Linked DNA regions of Homo sapiens: region 1 is linked to region 2. Evidence: promoter capture Hi-C in 16 types of primary human blood cells and fetal thymus (Javierre and others, 2016). All regions are on one chromosome and are shown on one strand. The core of a region is centred on a gene start or on the middle of the fragment in contact, and the rest is flanking DNA. Distances in the headings are between cores, read along the strand shown.

What was found. The method cuts DNA at HindIII sites, captures the fragments that hold promoters and counts their contacts. A CHiCAGO score of 5 or more calls a contact.
Region 1: a fragment that was not itself captured here is called in contact with the fragment with the promoter of GABPA in region 2 in 1 of 17 cell types (fetal thymus); the score reaches 5.0 in fetal thymus.

What each region holds. Positions count from the first base shown.
Region 1 is chr21:26,845,920-26,851,028 of GRCh38, reverse strand. No RefSeq gene overlaps it. Among named protein-coding and RNA genes, the nearest start is that of ADAMTS1, 3.1 kb to the right of the region's middle. RefSeq lists enhancers at 4,236-4,835, 4,836-5,109. The HindIII fragment of the contact is 744 bases long and covers 3,452-4,195 here.
Region 2 is chr21:25,731,738-25,736,859 of GRCh38, reverse strand. GABPA (GA binding protein transcription factor subunit alpha) reads right to left here and starts at 1,888. Exons shown (of 10, transcript NM_002040.4): 1 at 1,282-1,888. ATP5PF (ATP synthase peripheral stalk subunit F6) reads left to right here and starts at 1,956. Exons shown (of 4, transcript NM_001003703.2): 1 at 1,956-2,007. RefSeq lists silencers at 895-1,104, 1,165-1,304, 2,245-2,344 and enhancers at 1,805-1,924, 1,945-2,054, 1,481-2,136, 2,455-2,534, 3,827-4,664. The HindIII fragment of the contact is 6,464 bases long and covers 370-5,122 here.

The DNA.
Region 1 (5,109 bases), core at 2,574-5,073, 1.1 Mb before region 2:
CCAACTCTAATCCTTTCAACAATCTTGTCCAATTATGTATTTAGAGAGATTGTCTAGGCCTTTCCAATCAACATTTCATGAATATACAAGCCTACCATCAACCAATTACGAGTGTGTCCAGTTCTCAGGGTGACCTGAGAGCCACATGGAACAAGAAAGCTTTCCAGCCAGTGTTTCCAGCAGCAAGCATCCTAACCCAGGCCTCGGAATCTGAAGATACAGTGCTCAAATATCAGTGCTTCTGAGCTACTAACCATTGTAATTGCCCAAGTAGATGGCCAATGAATTGCAATAATTCATAATTCAGTTTTTGGTTATTAATAAGATTTATTGTATCTTACACAAAAGAGCATTATAAAATGATAAATATTGTAGGATAGAGGCTGAGATATAACCAAATATTGCTCTTGATCTTTAGCAAAAATCACTTTCAAAGGACAATTGATTTTCAGCCTCTGATTAAATCCCTGCTAGTGGAAGTGTAGGGAGGTGACCAGCTCCTATCTCAATCAGCCAATCAATAATTATAAGCCGGGTGGGGAAAAAAAGCAGTAGTGAAATAGTTTAAAATATCTTATTCCATGGTCTCAAGTGCCGCCTGCTGACTAAAACTGTCCACTTCCAATTCCAGCACTTATTAAACTAGAGATAATATGTTAATATTAATTTGCTTTAATTAATAAAATATTCCTAGAATATGATTTTAAATTCACATGACATTCGGAAGTCACTTATATTTGCAGTATTCAAGAATTACATGAAGTATGTGCTCATTAAGAGCGATTTTAAATTTTATCTTTTGTCACCACCTGGTGGTAGAACATTTTCTCACTTTTCTTTTTTCATTTTAAGCCTTACGTTGTTGCTAAGGAAAATTTCTAAACCAGGGAAACCAGTTAACCAGTATTGATTGTCAAGTATTAATGTATACTAAACATACTGTATGTACTTAATATCTATTGAATAAATGAATGAGTTTTTAATCTGTTTTAGTGGATTGCAAATGTACTTAATCTTTTCATTTGAATGACAAGAAGTTCTCAAATGTAATGAATAAAAGCGGTCCACAGTATTATTTTGTCAGAGGCAGTTTTCTTTCTTTAAAGTTTAATTGGATTTTTGTTTATGGTAATACAAACACATAATTAAAAAGTAGTTGATTTAAAAACGCATTTTATTATGCCCTCAAGAATAAATTCATTTAACATTGTAATATTTTTAAAATATTTTCCATAATACTAGGAGGTAGGAGAATATTTAATTAGAATTTATTAAACATGATTGAGAAGATGTGAAACTTTTGCAAATTCTTAACTTGAACTATTAAGAATAAAAAAGGAAAGGAAAGAAAAAAAAAAAAAAAACACCAAGTCGCACATCATTTGTTGTAGACCATCGCCACCTTGTGTTTGGAGAAAGATGTACTAAAGTCTGAGAATCTTTTAAGGTGGAAATTTTTTATTGCTGGAAAATTCCTATTTATAATTAAAACAAAACTTTACTGGAAACAACATCATTCCAAAGTCTGACAATATAATTACCTCCTACACAATTAGATAGGTTAAAATGTCAAAACAGTTGATTAAAAGTTATGAGTCAGAGTCATTTCTAAGCCCCCAGTTTGACTCTCGCTATGACATCTTGGGAAAACTACTTAACCCTTTTGAGTCTCATTTCTGCATCAGTTACACAAAGGGAGTCGATCTGGCAGATCATACTCCTCTGAGTTCTGTGAGGGCATGATGTGGAGGGAATATCAATTTTGAGTCTAAATGCAAGCTACAATAATTTTTCTGTCTCCAATATTTGCAATACTTCTGGGTATATAACCTGTTTAAACTAGAAGTTTTCTAACTACTTTCTCATTTGTGATCAATTAAAATATCCATTTGTCCAATATTACTTTAGACCATATGTTCCCAAAAGTAGGACTAATACCAAACAGCTTCCCTATTTCTAATTAGTCAATCTTATGGTACTAAAATGTGAATAAAAAGCATTTCCCGGTTATGAAATATGCACATTAGTTGTTTCTCTAGACAATGTTTACATTAAAACAATTCTAATAGCTCATGTATATTACCAGATTTCCTCATTTCATGGCTACTTGTTGAATACTTACTTTGGTATAGACGTCGTGAAAATTGTGAATAGAATATTGTGTCTATAACATATGAATCTGTGAAACAAATAAGAACACATAAGGTGTAAATAGAAATTGACACCTTGATGCTTATCTCTCACTTTAAAATGCAGACAACTTGTTCTTTTTTTCAGACAGTCCCTCTGTTCATAGAGGACAATAATGTGTTTAATAGGTCAAACTGTTAATTGTTCCAATAATTTTATGTCAAATGTTTTGAGTTTTGTTCTGTTATCTCTAGAAATAAAAATTAGCTTACATATGTAAATTAGAACATGTTGAGATTAATGTTTATATAAGCCCATATGTATTCTATAAAAATAAAACCCAAAATATGGGGAGTAGGGATTAGGATAGCATGTGTTATTTTGGGTGCCCATTCAAATCAAGGAGCAAAAATTGGATTATGAAACTCACTACAAGAACCCCATATTACATGTCACTTTTACTAGTGCCTTGTACAAATTTACTCCTGTGGTCTTGTTTCTACATTCAAATGTTTTTCCAATTCACATTTTGCTTATAAATATACATATATGTCCTATGTATATATTTGCATATTACCACAAATGCCTGATGAGTGCTAATCTTTAAATAAAAGAGAAAAAGTAAGTGGATTAAATGTTCTTCTGAGCATAGATGGAGTTTTTCAGCTTAGTAGTTGGCAACTCCAACATCCATGTCTCTGTTGAAGCGATTAAAAAAGAATCATTTCCCAGAACTACAGGTGCACAACAGATTGGAGTCATTATGCAAAAGAACAGAAATCTGGATAGAAACCCAGAGAATAAAAAAGCCATGTTCCCGGCCATCCTTTTGCCTTTAACTCACTGTTTTTTCAACCCTACTTGTATCTGCAACATGAAATATGAAACAATTATAATGGATTTGTAGTAACCCATTCAAGATCAGAAATGTATGCTTTTAAACAAACCTCCAATAAGAATACCCTGCAGGTAGAAACACACTAAAGGTCAAACTTACGTTAACATATTTTTAAAAGCTAAAGTTTATGTAGAGAAGTTGATAGACTGAAATACATTACATATGTCTTTAAAGATACAGATTTTCTGCTGTTTTTGTCCCTTTTTGCCCCAATTTAAGGGAATCACATCTACCTTCACTCATCTTCATTCAGCCTCTGGGCCACCTCTCCTTGAGATGGAGATTATGAGTGTCCAAAATCTCCATCTCAAATCTCCATCTCAAAGCCACTCTGAGGCTGTAACTGTTGTCACCATATATTATCTTCTGAGCCCTTTTCTAAGCAAGAGGTTGAAAATGTACGGATGGCTTTGCCTTCAAGCTTTTGTGATCCCGCGGTCAATATCTTGAAAGTCTAACATGACTTTCCTCATATGTTCTCTCAAGTATCTTGCCTTTTTTCTAGCTAGAAAGAACCAGTAAAATGAAATGAAATCATAGAAAATGGACCGTCAAAAAATTACTGTAATAGAAGATAACAATGTTAAAAAAAAAAGTCTGAAAACCAAACTGGGAAGTAGGAATGATCAGATGTTTGGGAAAAGACGCTTGGGAAACAGAGAAACAGGAAGGAATAATCCTCGTAGTTCGAAGTCGAAGAGAAGGAGGTAGGCTGGACAATGCTTGACAATGCAGAAAGGAATCACACACTCAGGTGTGCGGATGTCAATGTTGAGTTTGAAGGAGAAATGCAACGGCGGGAGGGGGGGAGAGACAGCGAGGGCTGCAAAGGAGAGACTCAGTGAAAAGAGGTAGGCAGAAACACTATCAGAATGTTAATCGAGCGCTGTCAAAATATATCTAAGGCCTTGGTTGATTATTCAACGTTCAACGATGAGGGTGATTTTAGGAAACCAAAATTAAATCTACGAAACCACCCACTCCTAAATGTGTAGGGACTAGAGGTCGTTACTAAGCCCTTCAGAAGTAAGCTGAGTTGCTTCTCTCTGCCATTCTTGCTCATTTGATTTTTCCTGATGAGTGGAAAGCAATGTTTTTGTTTTTGTTTTTCAAGTAAGCAATCTCGCTAGGAAAAAAGAAGTTGGAAAGCATCCGGAAAAGAAAGCTTGTAAGAGGGACGTGTGGGAGAACTAGAAGGGACGCTTCTGGCTGGGGCCAACTGAAGTGGGGAAGATCTGGGGAGGAGCGAGGAAAGGACCCAGATCTACTTGGAGCCAACCAAGAGACCGGACGGGAGTGGGGCGGAAAGGCGGAGACCAGTTCGAGCACTAACGCGGGGGCGCGCGAGTGTGAGGGTTGCGGGTCCGCCCGGGGCTAGGGCGGTCGCTCTCGCCATTGTCCCCGCGGCTTTCCGCCTGTGAAACACGTCCTTCCTCTGGGTCCTTGAGCCCCTCCCACTTTTTGGAGAGAAGAGCCACTCAGTTTTTTTTCCTAAGGACCTGTTGGTGGACCTCTCCTCGCTTTCGTAACGCGGATATAGCCTTTTCCCTTCCTGGTAGGAAGAGGAAGGAGGGGTCCGGGAAGGAAGCCGATTTCCTTCTTTCCCCCTCTGCACGCTTGCTAGCCCCAGCGATCGCTGCTGGCCCCCGGGTAGGAAAGTGGGGTTCCTGGCCGTTTCTGCGACGCTGGCCTAGGGCTTGCAGCTGCTGTTGAGTGAAAGCACGCAGACTGGCGGGAGCCGATCATTTCTCGAATGAAGAAGAAAAAGCGCAATTCCCTCCTTATGCTCTAGGGAATTGAGCCGCGTCCCAGATCACCCATTCCAGAAATGTGAAACCGGGCCCTCACAAAGTCGTCTCTGGTGAAGAGGTGGCGTGCGGGGTGGGGGTTGGTGGAGGGTGAAGGCATAAGCAAACATATTTTAAAATCCAGATCGTAGGAAGTGTCACCTGGCCCCTCACCCAGGCATGCTTTCTGGGGGAAGCGCAGGGCCAAGCTTTCCCTAGAAAAGCTGGGGCGAAGAGAGAGCAGGCGGCGGCTAAGGAGCTCCTGGCAGGCTGGGAAGGTGGAGAAGTGGGGTG
Region 2 (5,122 bases), core at 639-3,138:
AATAAAGGTAGCAGTTAAGAAAAAGCAAAGCATACATATCTATGTAATATAAAAAGAGAAAGCACATACAGTGAAAGATTAACAGTTGGGACCCTCAGGTGAAGGGTATCTGCGTGTTCACTGCATGATTTTTTCCCCAATTCTTCTGTAGGTTTGGAGTTTTATATATAAAGAGTTGAGGGAAGGCTAAAGTCAACAGTTTTAATTTAGTACTCGGTCTGATGATTTGCTTCAACCTAACATCTAGCTCATGATTTAATTACTTCATTACTATACATGCCTCATGACAGATGCTCTTGTATACACAATTCAGGTAAAATTGACTTGAAGTCCACTCAGCGTCACTGTATGTCTAAAAATAAAGAAGCTTGGAAAGCCTGGATGGAACCCTGAGAGACAGGCTAGTCCCTCAAGCAGTTGCTAAAGAGTTGAGCGGTTTCTTCTGAAGTTCAAGATAACACTACCGAAGAATGTTATCACCGCCTCGTTCTACAATTCGCTCAAGTGAATCCTGCTAAATCTTTGCTCTTCTCACGAGTCAGACCTACTGCTATTAGTGGAAACTACTTATGAAATGAATTTTATTTCTAAATTTCTAATCATCTTGCAATGCAATATTAGGCATTGTCCTCTCGGTCCGCTAACCTGATCAAACTGGGGTCCCTAAATCCAAACACGCACATACAGCGTGTCTTCTAGTACACAAAAAAATTTCCAAGTAGACAACCCATTGTTATCTCCTTGGTTTACTTCCTTGCTTAAAAACAAAAAAACAAACCCAGATGGCTACCATATACGCTGATAAATGATTCTGGTGTGTGTTGTTCTATAAAGAGAGCGGATTTGAAATGAGTGAATCGCTGAGTCCCGCGATGAGACAGGGTCTGCATTTTGCTCTTAAAATCTCGGGGGCGTCAGGACCACATCCCAGCTGAGCAGGCTGAGACTGCTGAGGAGTGCGGACGGGCGAGGAGGGGACGCGGAAAGGAGGGAGCGGCGACAGGCGACCCGTCCGGCACGGGTCCCGGCGGTGCCCGGTCCCCCCGGGCTCCAGGCCGCTCGCCCCCCGCCCCTCCCCTTCGCTCCCCGCACAGCTCTCCCGCCCCTCCCCACCCGGCTCCCTCAAGTCTCCACGAACGGAAATGGGAGTCACAGCGCCGGGGACCAGCGGAAACAAAACACAGAGGCGGCCGCGGGGGGGCCCTTGTGGGGGAAAAGGCCCCGGAACGAGGCCGGCCCGCGAGGGCCCGCGCTCCCCTCCTCCCCGGCGGCCGCACTCACCCACTCCGGAATCGGCCCTGTCGCCCCCGCCCGCACTCCAGAGCCGGCTGAGAACGGCAGCGGCGAGGGCTCCACGTGCAGCGTCTCTCCGGGTAAGACCTGCAGCTCCCGCGACTAGAAGTGTGAGGTCCCAGGGCCCTTCCCGCGGAATCGGCGCTGAGAAGCCCCAACCCCCCTCCCGCCTCCCAGGCACCTTCGGGTCCAGGACTACAACTCCCGGCAGGGTGCGCAAAACGACCGCCCAAGGCAACGGAGGCTCACGAGGTACAAGGAAGCACAACGCCCCAATCCGCTTTGTTTTACACAGTCTCACTTTCCCTGCACCTTTATACACTTCGATAACCCTAACGAACAGGACGCTGACTCGGAGGGGAGCTTGAACTAGGGGAAAGGCCACTCAAAGAGCGCATGCGTACAGAGCAAGGTTTCAAGGAGGGGAAAAAGAACGGGTCAAATTAGGCGAAGAAAAGATGGCGGAGGCTGTGCCAGGGGACCCGGAAGCACTTACCCTCCACTTCCTCCTCCTGTTTGGCTTCTGTCTCACCTAGACCCGTCCGGTCGCAGACTGTCTCCGAGACGCTTCCTGTCCGGTGAGCGTCGACCGACTGAAACGGCGGCCCATAATGCATTGCGATGGCGGGTAGGCGTGTGGGGGCGGAGCCAGGGCCGGAAGTAGAGCGGAGGTGGTGGCGGCGGAGGCTTTGGCAGCTCGGGACTGAGTGCAAGGTGACTGGGAGGGTAGCTAGATCAGCGTGGCCTTTTGGGACTCCAGTTCTGGGTTTTTTCACGAGGCCTGGGCTGCCTCTCACCTTTACTAGGAGGAGAGAGCAGCTCTGTGTCCTGGGGACCTTCACGGCCTGGCCCGGGGTCACAGCTGACCTCTACGTTTGTAGACCTTGGAGTTTGCCGTAGACCCAGAAATAAGATCGATACCCTCTCTGAGGGCAAATCGGGGCGGCGCGGGGGGCAGGGAGGCCCGGGGGTCTCGGGCCCGCAGCCTGGCTGGGGCAACCCAAGGTCAGGCGCGCGGGAGAGATTTTCGGCCAGGCCTACCCGCCCCGGGCGCACGGGAGCGTCTAGGCTACTTAGGCAGAACGTGTACCATTAAGAGGGAAAAAATTAGTCATAATATTGAAAGTTTGCATCCCACCTAAAAACGATGGTGCTAACACTTCATTAGGCGACTTTATGGATTGTTCATAGGAATATGCACTGAAGAGGCAGCGAACCTACTAACCTTTGGCCGGTCAGTCATCACTATAAATAGAACCATGCTCCCACCCAGAACAAGGCCTCTGCTCAGACTAGTGTTTTCTTACTGTTGCCTTCCCCAGTCTTTCTGATCATGTCAGACGCTATCATATGCTCTCGTGGCACCCGATGGTACTGGAATAGAGAATTTATGTCAGGTGGTATTTCACAGCTATTTGTGTAATGACTATCTTCTGCGTTTTAGTGGACAATATGCATTCACTAATCAGTGAAAAAAAATGAAAGGGATTAAAGGAGAAGGAACAAGTTTTGATATGGGATTATGTGTTCGTTTTTTGGATGAGTTCGTAGGACTTATAAGGGAGATGAGAACTGTTGAATGCTGTGGATAGATTTGGGGCTCAGGATGAATACTAAAATTAGAAATGCGATTGGGGAATCATAGGCACTTACATGGTGGATAATTGAAACAATGAAAGTGGATTTTACCCGTGTTGCAGAAGGAGTAACATCTATGCAGTCAGACTTAGAGCAAATTAACTGTGAGAATACGTGCAGCTTAATCTTTCTTAGATACAGTTTTATCATCTGTAAAGCAGGGATAAGAACACTTTAACTCTTTGAGAGTATTGCTGTAAGGGTACAAGGAAAGGATATATATGGAAGTACTTTGCACAGTATCTAGGGCTAAGCAAATGTCGGGTGAACCTATTGCTGAATGTTAAGCATGTCCTTAGTTTGCCAGAAGGGAAAGTGGCATTGAATTGCACAATTTTTTTTTTTGCATATATGTGTTAAGTTAGATTTTGCTGTGTAACTTTGACCAGATACTTTTTTTTTGAGACAGAGTCTCGCTCTGTCGCCCAGGCTGGATTGCAGTGGCACGATCTCTGCTCACTCCAAGCTCCACTTTCCAGGTTTACGCCCTTCTGCCTCAGCCTCCGGAGTAGCTGGGACTACAGGTGCCCGCCACCACGCCTGGCTAATTTTTTGTATTTTTCAGTAGAGACCGGGTTTCACCGTGTTAGCCAGGATGGTCTCGATCTCCTGACCTCGTGATCTGCCCGCCTCGGCCTCCCAAAGTGCTGGGATTACAAGCGTGAGCCACCGCGCCCGACCACTTTGACCAGATACTTCTAATCCTCAGTTTCTGTGTGTTTAAACATAGGAATGATAATAAGTGGCACATGACCTTGTGAGGTCATTTGTTGTTTGCTTGTAGCCTTTTCTCAAGTATTTTTCCCTGATGGGGTATAAAAGTGATATGTTATGAATTCTTTAATTTCTTCAAACAGTTTGCTTTCATTCTGTCAGGTGAAGCATATTTTGTTGATTGCATTGATAGTAGGATTTCTTTTTTTTTTTTTTTTTTTTTTTTTTTGAGACAGAGTTTCACTCTTGTTGCCCAGGGTGGAGGAGTGCAGTGGCGCGATCTCGGCTCACCGCAACCTCCGCCTCCTGGGTTCAAGGAATCTCCTGCCTCAGCCTCCTGAGTAGCTGGGATTACAGGCATGTGCCACCACTCCCGGCTAATTTTGTATTTTTGGTAGAGACGGGGTTTCTCCATGTTGGTCAGGCTGATCTTGAATCCCTACCTCAGGTGATCCACCCACCTTGGCCTCCCAAAGTGCTGGGATTACAACAAAGTGCTGGGATTACAGGCGTGAGCCATCACGCCCGGCCTGATTGTAGGATTTCTTTCTTTCTTTTTTTTTTTTTTTGAGACAGGGTTTCACTCTGTAACACAGGCTGGAATGCAGTGGTGCAATCACAGCTCACTGCAGCTTCTACCTCCCAAGCTCAAGTGATCCTCCAGCCTCAGCCTCCCAAGTACCTGGGACTACAGGCACCCACCACCGCACTTGGCTATTTTTTTTTTTTCTGTAGAGATGGGGTCATACTGTGTTGCCCAGGCTGGTCTTGAATTCCTGGGCTTAAGTGATCCTCCTGCCTTGTTCTTCCAAAGTGCTGGGATTACAGGCATGATCCGCTGCACCTGGCTCATTGTAGATTTCTTTTGATAATTTTTACATGCCATTCCAGAGTTTGTCAACCTTGGCATTATTGACATTTTGACCAGATAATTCTTAGGGGTGGGAGGGCTGTTATTGTCGTTATAGTGTTTGGCAGCATTCCTGGCTTTGTACTCATTATAAGCCAGTAGCACTCAGCTTGGTGAGAACAACCAAAAATGTCTAAAGACATTGCCAGATGTCTCCTTGGAGAGAAAAAAACTCACTTCTTCCCCCACCCCCAACCCTATTTTGAGAACTATTGTGCGACTCTACAGTTTTCTAGCTAGTGCTGCTCAAACTCTGAGTGGTAAAGGGCCATTCTCACACCCACTCCTGTGGACACTTTTGAATACAGTGAAAATGAATTACAAAAGAAATGAAATTTAAAAAACAAAACAATGAAGTCACTTAAAATACAAGCTCTAATTTTTTAGAGACAGGTTCTCTCCATGTTTCCCAGGCTGGTCTTGAACTCCTGAGTTCAAACAATCCTCCCTCCTCGGCCTCCCAAAGTGCTGGGATTACAGGCATGAGCCACCTCGCCTGGCCTCTAAATACTTATATCTAATTTCTATATTACTTTAGACCAATAACATAGTTTGTATACTTCCACT